Regions from separate parts of the Homo sapiens genome. Here region 1 is linked to region 2. The links are contacts of gene promoters, found by promoter capture Hi-C in human tissues and cell types (Jung and others, 2019). All regions are on one chromosome and are shown on one strand. Each heading gives the region's core, a stretch centred on a gene start or on the middle of the fragment in contact. The rest is flanking DNA. Distances are from core to core; before and after follow the strand shown. Region 1 has its middle 62 kb from the start of IL33. Region 2 holds the start of IL33 (interleukin 33).

The links. The method cuts DNA at HindIII sites, captures the fragments that hold promoters and counts their contacts. A contact is called where the count stands out against the background at its distance.
Region 1: a contact is called between a fragment that was not itself captured here and the fragment with the promoter of IL33 in region 2, in 1 of the 25 tissues and cell types used here (liver).

What each region holds. Positions count from the first base shown.
Region 1 is chr9:6,151,668-6,156,541 of GRCh38, forward strand. No RefSeq gene overlaps it. Among named protein-coding and RNA genes, the nearest start is that of IL33, 62 kb to the right of the region's middle. RefSeq lists an enhancer at 1,019-2,218. The HindIII fragment of the contact is 5,106 bases long and covers 1-4,457 here.
Region 2 is chr9:6,212,712-6,217,686 of GRCh38, forward strand. IL33 (interleukin 33) reads left to right here and starts at 3,096. Exons shown (of 8, transcript NM_033439.4): 1 at 3,096-3,141. The HindIII fragment of the contact is 11,056 bases long and covers 1-4,975 here.

The DNA.
Region 1 (4,874 bases), core at 655-3,154, 62 kb before region 2:
TCTGTATTTGGATTGCCAATCACTGCTTCTGATCACAGTGGTACAGACAAAGAAGTGAACAGCTATTGTTTCACCTCTACCCTTTTTGCAAGCCCCTCCCATCCATCTGAGATGACTTCCAGGGGATTCAAAGGACCAGGGCCATTTTTCCCCCTTAATATTTTTGATTCCCTTTTGGGAACCAGACGTTAAAGACTAGGACTTTCAGAAACAACTTCATAGAGGGGGAAATTAGAAAGTGACCATGCATACCCAGGGAAAGGCTCAGGCTCAGAAAAGACCTGAAAGGACCTTAAGTTTATATATATCAGACATACAACAATAAAAAAGAGTAAACAAAAACAATGACTAAATCTAGCAAACTCTGGAAAAGGAGAAGAACTTGATTTCCAGATTTACCACATTTTTAGATTCAAATGTCCAGTTTTCAATGTCAACCAAAAAAAAATCACAAGACATACAAAAAAAAAAAACAAAAACCAGGAAAGTATGGTCTATTCAAAGAAAAAAATAAATCAACAGAAACCATCCCTGAAAAAGATATGATGTCAGATATACTAGATGAAGACTTTTAAACAGATGTCTTAAAGATGCTCAATATTCTAAAGAAAGATGTGAAGAAAGACCAGAAAAAATATATGATACATGAACAAAATGGAAAAATCAATGATGATACAGAAAAACCTAAAAATAAACCAAAAAGAAAGCAAGGAGTGGAAAAATAAAACCAAGATAAAAAATTCACTACAAGGACTAAAAGACATACTTGAGCATCCAGAAGATAAAAATAGTGAAAGGTGAAGATAGAACAATGGAAATCACTGAGTCTGAGGAATAGAAAAAAGGCCGAAGAAAAATAAATAAAACCTAGATAAGCTGTAGGACACCATCATATACATTTTGGGAGTCTCTGAAGATTAGAGAGAGAGGCGGGTAGAGAGAATATTTTAAGAAATAATGGCTGAAAGCTTCACAAATGTGATGACAGACTTGAACATAAACATACAAGAACTCAACAAACTCCAAATAAGAAGAATTTAAAGAGACTCACCCAAAAACACATTATAATCAAACTTTTGAAAACCAAAGACAAAAACAGAATCTTGAAAGTGGCAAGAGAGAAGCAATTTGTCACTTACAAGAGATCCTCAATTAGAATATCATCAGATTTCTCATCAGAAACTTTGGAAAACAGAAGCCAGTGGGTTAATAAATTCAAAGTGCGAAAAGAAAAAGAAACCTGTCAATCAAGAATCTTTTATCTTGCAAAACTCTCCTTCAAAAGCGAGGAAGCAATTAAAATATTCCCAGATAAACAAAAGCTGAGTGAGTTCACTACTAAACCTGCCGTGCAAGAAATGCTTACGTCTTGCAAGGTGAAATGTAAGAACACTAGACAGTAACTCAAAGCTATATGAAGAAATAAAAATCTCAATGAAGGTAAATACATGGACAATTATAGAAGCTAGTATTATTGTAACAATGGTTTGTAACTCCATTTTTTGTTTTTTGCATGGTTTGAGATTCATACGTTAAAAACTATTAGTCTAAAAGCTAGTATTATTGTTAACTTTGGCTTGTAACTCCTATTGACAGAAATTAAGGCTGTTGAGGCAGAAATAATTTGATAAAGGTTTATTGGAAGCCAAATGTGAGGATCAACCTGGGAAGACACATCAGAAAGTTGGGAGTGTTCCAGAATCTGTTACAAGTTGGAAGGCTTTTATAAGTAAGTTTAGGAGAAGGGAGAGGGGCTCCTCATAGTGAAGTTGTCCTTTTTCATTGGAGGGTACAACACAAAGATTGGCTGCAAAGTATGACATACAGGGCAACATACAGGTTAAAATTCTATGCACAAGACAATCAGTGAAACTTCATGATTCAGAAACAAATCACCAAAACATTATGATTCAGAAACAAATCAGCAGCCTTTTTGATGTCAGTAGGTTATAAATTAATCATTATACGTCAATAATTTGAGAAACTCAGATAAGATTCTTTACTCATGAACAGGATGTTGCCATGAATCACAAGACTGCCCCAAGATAGGTTAATTTAAGAAGCCCTGTTTACTTTTAAAGTAAACTGCCAAATATGAACTGTAGGTTATCACCCCACATTTTATTTTCTACTTTTTTTTTTTTTTTTGAGATCGCATCTTGCGCTGTTGCCCAGGCTGGAGTGCAGTGGTGCAATCTCGGCTCACTGCAACCTCTGTCTCCTGGGTTCAAGAGATTCTCATGCCTCTGCCTCCCCAGTAGTTGAGATTACAGGTGCCCGTCACCATGCCCAGCTAATTTTTGTATTTTTAGTAGAGACAGGGTTTCACCTTGTTGGCCAGGCTGGTCTCAAACTCACGACCTCAGGTGATCCAACCACCTTGGGCTCCCAAAGTGCTGGGATTACAGGCATAAGCCACCATGTCTGGCCAATCTTCTAGATAATTTAAGAGACTAATGTATGTAAATAAATTATTACTTTATGTTTTGGGGCATGAAATATAAAAAGATGTAATTTTATGACATTAACAACGGAAAGAGGTGGGGACAGAATTGTAAAGAAACAGAGTTTTGTATGTTATTGAAGTTAAACTGGTATAAATTCAAATTAGAGTATTATAACTTTAGGATGTTAAGTGCAATCCCCATTAAACCATAAAGGAAATAGCTAAAGAATGTACACAAAAGGAAATGGAAAGAAATTTTAAAATTTCACTGCAAAAAATCAACTAAACATGAAAGAAGACAGTCAATAAATGCAGGAAATGAGAGGCAAATAAGCTATAAGCCATAAAAAACAAATAGCAAAATGAAAAAAATTAAGTTTCTCCTTATCAGTATATACTTTAAATGCAAATGGATTAAACTCTACCATCAAAAGACAGGGATTAGCAGAATGGATACATACATGGTCTGACTATTTACTGTTTACAAAAGACTTACTTTAGATCCAAAGATATAAACAGATTAAAAGTGGAAGCATGGAAAAAATATTCCATGCCAATAGTAACCAAAACACAGTAGGAGTGGGTATAATAATATCAGACAAAATAGACTTTTTTTTTTAACAGGGTCTCACCCTGTCACCCAGGTTGGAGTGCAGTGGCACAATCTTGGCTCACTGTAGCCTTGACCTCCTAGGCTCAAGCAATCCTCCTACCTCAGCCTCCCAAGTAGCTGAGACTACAGGTAAGCGTCACCATGCCCCGCTAACTTTTGTATTTTTTTGTAAAGATGGCATTTCACCATGTTGTCCAGGCTAGTCTAGAACTCCTGGGCTCAAGTGTTCCACCTGCTTCGGCCTCCCAAAATGCTAGGAGCACAGGCATGAGCCACTGCTCCCAGGCGAAATAAACTTACAGGGCTATAGTGGACAAAGAAGGACATTATATATTAATAAAAGACCCAACACAGCAAGAAGATATTCAATTATAAACATTTACCCATCTAAGGACAGACCATCAAAACACATAAAGCAAAAGCTTACAGAATGAAAGGGAAAAAGAGATAGTTCTATAACAATAGTTGGAGACTTCAATACCCAACTCGCAATAATGGTGAGAACAACCAGACAGAAAATAAGCAAGGAAACAGAAGACTTAAACAATGCAATAAACCAACCAGACTAACAGGTATATACACAATCCTCTCTCCAACAACTACAGTATACAAACTTTTCTCAAGTGCACATGGGACATTTTGCAGGATACATCATATGTTAGGCCACAAATTAAGTCTCAATAGATTTTTAAAAGATGGATATCATACAAAGTATCTTCTCTGACCAAATGACATAAAGTTAGAAATCAATAACCGAAGTGAAATGGAGAATGTATAAATTTGTGGAAATTAAACAACAAACTCTTAAACAACCAAAGTAAAAATCACAGGGGAAATTAGAAAATACTTATAGACAAATAAAAATGAAAACACAACATGCTAAATCTTATGGGACAAAGCAAAAGTAGTCTGTGGGTGGAAATTTATAGCTATACCTGTTTACATTAAAAAACAAGAAAAATGTCAAATCAACATCCTAACTTTACAAGTTTAGAATAAGAAGAACAGGCTGGGTGTGGTGGCTCATGCCTGTAGTCCCAGCATTTTGGGAGGCTAAGGCAAGCAGATCACTTGAGCCCAGGAGTTCAAGACCAGCCTGAGCAACATAGTGAAATCCAATCTCTACAGAAAATACAAACATTATCTAGGCATGGCGGCACATGCCTGTGGTCTCAGTACTCAGGGGGCTGAGGTTGGGGAATTGCTTGAGCCTGGGAGGTCAAGGCTGCAGTGAGCTATGATTGCACCACTGCACTCCAGCCTGGGTGACAGAGTGAGATCTTGTTGAAAAAAAAAAAAAAAGAAAAGAAAAGAAAGAAAAGAAGAAGAAGAACAAACTAAACTCAAAGGTAGCAGAAAGAAGGAAATAATAAATATTAGAGCAGAGGTAACAAAATAAAGAATAGAAATAAAGAGAAAAATCAACAAAACCAAGAGTTAGTTCTGTGACGAGATTAAGAAAATTGACAAATGTTTAGTTAGTTGTATTAAGAAAAAAAGAGAGAACACTCAAATTACTAAAATCAGAAACAAAAGTGGGGATATTACTGCTAATTCTACAGAAATAGGAAGGATTATAAGAGAGTACTATGAACAATTGGGTATTGACAAATTGGATAACCTAGATGAAATGGACAAATTCCTTGAAACAGAAAGCCTACCAAGACTAAATCAAGGAGAAATAAATAATCTGAATAGACCTATGACTAGTAAAAAGATTTAATTAGTAATGAAAAATCTTCTGACAAGGAAAAGCCCTGAACCTGATGACTTTGCTGATGAATTCCACCAAACATTTAGAGAAGAATACCAATC
Region 2 (4,975 bases), core at 1,846-4,345:
ATGTCTTAGCATTACCTCAATATCTATCATACTTTTGATTCTTCAATTCTGCTTATATTCAGGCCTACCATTTGGGTTCACCTTCCTCCATGTGAAGTATACCCTTTAAATTTTCATTTTTTAAGGTCTGTTGGTAGCAAAACATCAATTTGAACTTTCTTCCTTTGGGAATAAAATTGTGCAACCAGATCAAGTATATGTCTATGAGTCAGCAAAATTTTAGACAGTCACCCATATACCTTGCATCTACCCTGAAAGGAGGAAGTTAATAAGGCAGATTTGGGATTTGGGAAGTAGTGGGGTTAGGGATGAAGAACTATAAAAGTCACAAAACCTGGGGTAACCATATCTCAGTGTTTTCCTATTATTCTGGTCAAATGATTAATAACATTCTTTTCATTCTCAAAAATTTATGATTCAGATAACAAATTATACGATTACTAGAATAAAGTCTGTATGACCTAACCCTTAGTCGTCCTGCCTTCTAGAGCCATGCTTTCATCTTCATTCAACTAGCTACTTGAATAGCATGGAGTAACTTGTGGCAGTCCAATATTACCATTGAGTACAACCAGAAAGGCAGATCAGGAGAGAGCTGCTGAAGCACGAAGGATGAGGGGCTAAGATTCCATGGAGAGATTAGCTAACAGTAGTTAGCTACTTTTTAATAGTTACGAGAGCATTGGCCAAGGCAGGGAATCTGTATTTTACCAAGGTAGGAGGTCACTGCCAGGAGACAGAGAAATCACTGTTGATCGGTGTTGTGGGAATGAAGAGACAAAATTGGAAATTGGAAGGGCCAGGCCCCCAGCAAGAAGAGAGGGCTGGAGAACTGAACCTACATATAATGAGTTTCCTCTTCAAAACACTTGCCGAATTACGCAGCTGCATGGGGGCAAAGGCAAAAAAAAAAAAAAAAAAAAAAAAAATCAGCCTCTTAAAAGCAGAGCTGTGGTTTTAGCAGCCTTTTTGGTTTTGTTCTTGTTTCATAAAAAGTCAAGAGTTATAGTTCATGACTGCTGGGAGAAAATTGAATAATTTTTAGAAATTGTTTCATCCAGGCCAGACACAGTGGCTCACGCCTGTAATCCCAGCACTTTGGGAGGCCAAGGGGGGCAGATCACGAGGTCAGGAGATCGAGACCATCCTGGCTAACACAGTGAAACCCCGTCTCTACTACAAAATACAAAAAATTAGCCGGGCATGGTGGCGGGCGCCTGTAGTCCCAGCTACTCAGGAGGCTGAGGCAGGAGAATAGTGTGAACCTGGGAGGCGGAGCTTGAAGTGAGCTGAGATCACGCCACTGCACTCCAGCCTGGGCGACGGAGCGAGACTCCATCTCAAAATAAATAAATAAATAAATAAATAATTGTTTTATCCAAAAAAGAGCATAAGCCAGGGGGACAAAATAGCAGAGAAAAAAAGTAAGATAGTAGAAGCAAATTCAAATATATCAATAATTACAATAGATGTTCCAGTTCAAAGACAAATTATTGTCAAACTGGGAAAAAAAACCAGTATACTACTTATATGTGACACATCTTTAATGTAAGGACACAGAAAGTTTGAAAGAAAAAAGATGAAAAGAGATACACTATGTGAATACTAACCAAAAGAATGTTTGCAAAGCTCTGCTAATGGAGAAAGCAGACAAATGGACAAAGCAGACTTTAAGGCATGAAGCATAATTAGAGATAAAAAGAGAAATTTTTGAAATAATGAAGGAGGGTTCAATATACATAATAAAGATACATTATTCATCCTTTGTAATTTCCTCAGTATTTGCAAGAATTCCCAGAGTAGAGTATGCTAATATTCCCTTGGCTGTTACTTGTCACCCCTCCCTCCTATTTATTGCACACAGCTCAATTCCTGATTCATTCTTGTCATGTTGGCATCCTGTCCGCTTGCTTCACTGCTTTATCCAAAGGGCAGACATAGCCATCTTTCTTCATTACTCACAAATGCAACACTATGGCTTGTAGCAGATGATTGCTCAGGTTTGGGGATGATTAAAGGGGATTACTGCACAGAAAATGAAACAACTTTAAACAAGATAACAGAGTTCCTTAGTTGTTTTTTCCAAAGGGGACTCCATCATAGTCACATTTTCCCAAGCCTGGTCAGCCATCTGTTGCTGTCTCATTTTCTCTTTCCCCTGGATTCCAGAACCCTAACATTCTATCCTTCAACATGCCATGAGAAAAACTAAAAAATTCCTATTTCATTTTACAGTAAACTTTTTTCTGCTGCCCCTTTGTTTCAAGGTCACCCTTCTAATCTTGTAGATTGAATGGATGTAGAGGCTTGCTAGGGTAACAGTCCATCACAATATCCTTCTAAGTACAGCAGCAGTCTTCCTTCCAATGTGTGATCTTAGGATGTGGAATCAGTCCAAGTCTTAAAAGAGCATTACTTCATCCCTTTATTTTCTGCTACAGATGCCAAACGAGATGGAGAGAGGGTGAGTAGGAGCAAAATTTCTCATGAGGTAAGAAGAACAACTTCTCATGGGATCTATAGTACAGGATTTGCTTTTGTGATAAAGTATTATCTTCTGCGAGATTTTTGAGATGAATAGAAAGAAAAGATGAACAGTGGGGAGCAGGAAAGCCCGTCAGATATGTTGGAATACAGAGTATTTCAGAGCTTTTATTTGCAGACGAGCTGCTTATTACTGATAGGCCAAAGGGGGTCGCAAATTTCTATTATAAAGGAATTTGGAAGAATACACTGATCTCTTAATGAAGTTTGTAAATTAAGAAGCCAACGGCCAAAAGTGAATATATAAATGGCAACAGAATTTCAAAATGGACAGTGCTGAAGTTGAAGTTTAGGAGTTCAACTCCAAAGAGAGCCAAAACATAAAGTTTAGGGGCAGAAGAAGAATCATAATTGCTGGTTTAAAATATTCAGATGGAGGGAGGACGCAGAAAGTAGTGAGCCTTAGATGTTGACAGAATTGTAACTCTGTTGGCTCTTTACATGAGATTTCAAGCCTGCTAAAATCTCACCCGCCCAGATCTCCCTTCTAAGGCAATTTGGGTCTCTGCCAAACTTTGGCTAATAAAAAGAGTCTACAGACTCCTCCGAACACAGAGCTGCAGCTCTTCAGGGAAGAAATCAAAACAAGATCACAAGGTAAGACTGAATATTCTGGGAGATTTTTAGTCAGATTTTGCAAAGTTAAACCTTGGGAACCATGGAGAACTGTGTTTTTTTTTTTTTCCTGAAAAATAAATGATAAGGCCAATTTGTTATTATTGCTAATAGCAGTAAAAGTCAATGACAATAGCTGTTACTAACTTATAATTCCATTTGCTTTCCTTTGGGTGATTTGTAAAATTAATAAATTGCTGAAAGAGATTGTAATAGTTTTTATAGTAAATTCTGCCCCCTCCATGAAACTTTATTTTATTTTATTTTATGTTTTTTAAGAGATGGGATCTTGCTCTGTAGCGCAGGCTGGAGCACAGTGGCGTGATCCTAGCTCACTGCAGCCTCCAATTCCTGGGCTCAAGCAATCATCCCATCTCAGCTTCCCAAGCAGCTGGAACTACAGGCACACGCCACTATGCCTGGGTAATTTTTTTAGTTTATGTAGAGATAGGGTCTTTGCTTTGTTGCCAGGCTGGAAACTTTATAAAGCAAGTTGATAATTCTACTTCTAACTCCTAATGCTTACTCAAGACAAACATGCTTGCAATTGTTTACAAGTGGTTTTCAGTAAAAGGGGGACATCACTAAGTGTGGTGGTTCAAGCCTGTAATCCCAACACTTTGGGAGGCCGAGGTGGGTGAATCGCCTGAGGTCAGGAGTTTGCAGCCAGCCTGGCCAAGAGGATGAAACCCTGTCTCTACTAAAAATACAAAAACAAACAAACAAAACTAGCTGGGTGTGGTGGTGGGCACCTGTAATCCCAGCTACTCGGGAGGCTAAGGCAGGAGAATCGCTTGAACCCAGGAGGTGGAGGTTGCAGTGAGGCAAGATCATGCCATTACACTCCAGCCTGGGTAACAAGAGCTAAATGTCATCTCCAAAAAAAATGATGGAAACTTTGAATAAAAAATAGCTTCACAAAGAGGATTAGAGATGCACTAAATGAAGTAGTTTGGAATTGTTCTTTAGTTCTTTTTTCTTAATGGGACCTGACCCTGGACTTTAATCTCTGATCTGCACAGACAAAACCAATTCACTGAAACCATGGCATGGCAGTGAAGAGTTTAATTGACACAGGGCCAGCCAGCCATGCCACAGAGGATTCAAAGTTATTATTCAAATCTCCCCAAAAATTTGGAGGCTAGGGTTTTTCAAGGTTAGTTTGATGGGCAAAGGGCTTAGGGGAATAGGTGCTGCTGATTGGTTGGGAATAAAATCACAGGCATGTGAAAAATGGTCCTCGTGTATGCACTGAGTCTATTTCTGGGTGGGAGCCACAGAGTAGTCACTGGTCATCAGAAATGCAAAAGCCTGAACAGACATCTCTGAAGGTCAATCTTAGCTTATACAATAGTGATGTTATTTACAGTAGTCACTGGGGAAGTTGCAAATCTTGTGACCTCCAGAATCATGGCTAGTAATCATTTTACTATGCCTACATCTTAGCAGAATTCAGGACCCTCTCAAACTCCTAACTTGGTGGTCTTTCATTATTTTTACCAAGGTGGTTTACTTTTGGTGAAGGGTTATTATCATTTAAACCATACCCTAAATTTCTCCCAAAGTTAGCTTGGCCCAAGCCCAGGAATGACCAAAGGCAATATGGAAGTTAAAAGCATGATGGGGGTTGGTTATGTCAGATCTCCTTCACTGTCATAATTTTCTCACTGTTATTTCTCACTGTCAGTTTCAAATACAAGAATTGAGAGGTACCACCCCCTCAAAAATAAACTTTTGTGGAAAAACAAGGAATTGATACCCTAAGTGGAGAAATTCAAAAGCTCATCAGTTTTGCTACTATTCTTCATTTACAGAC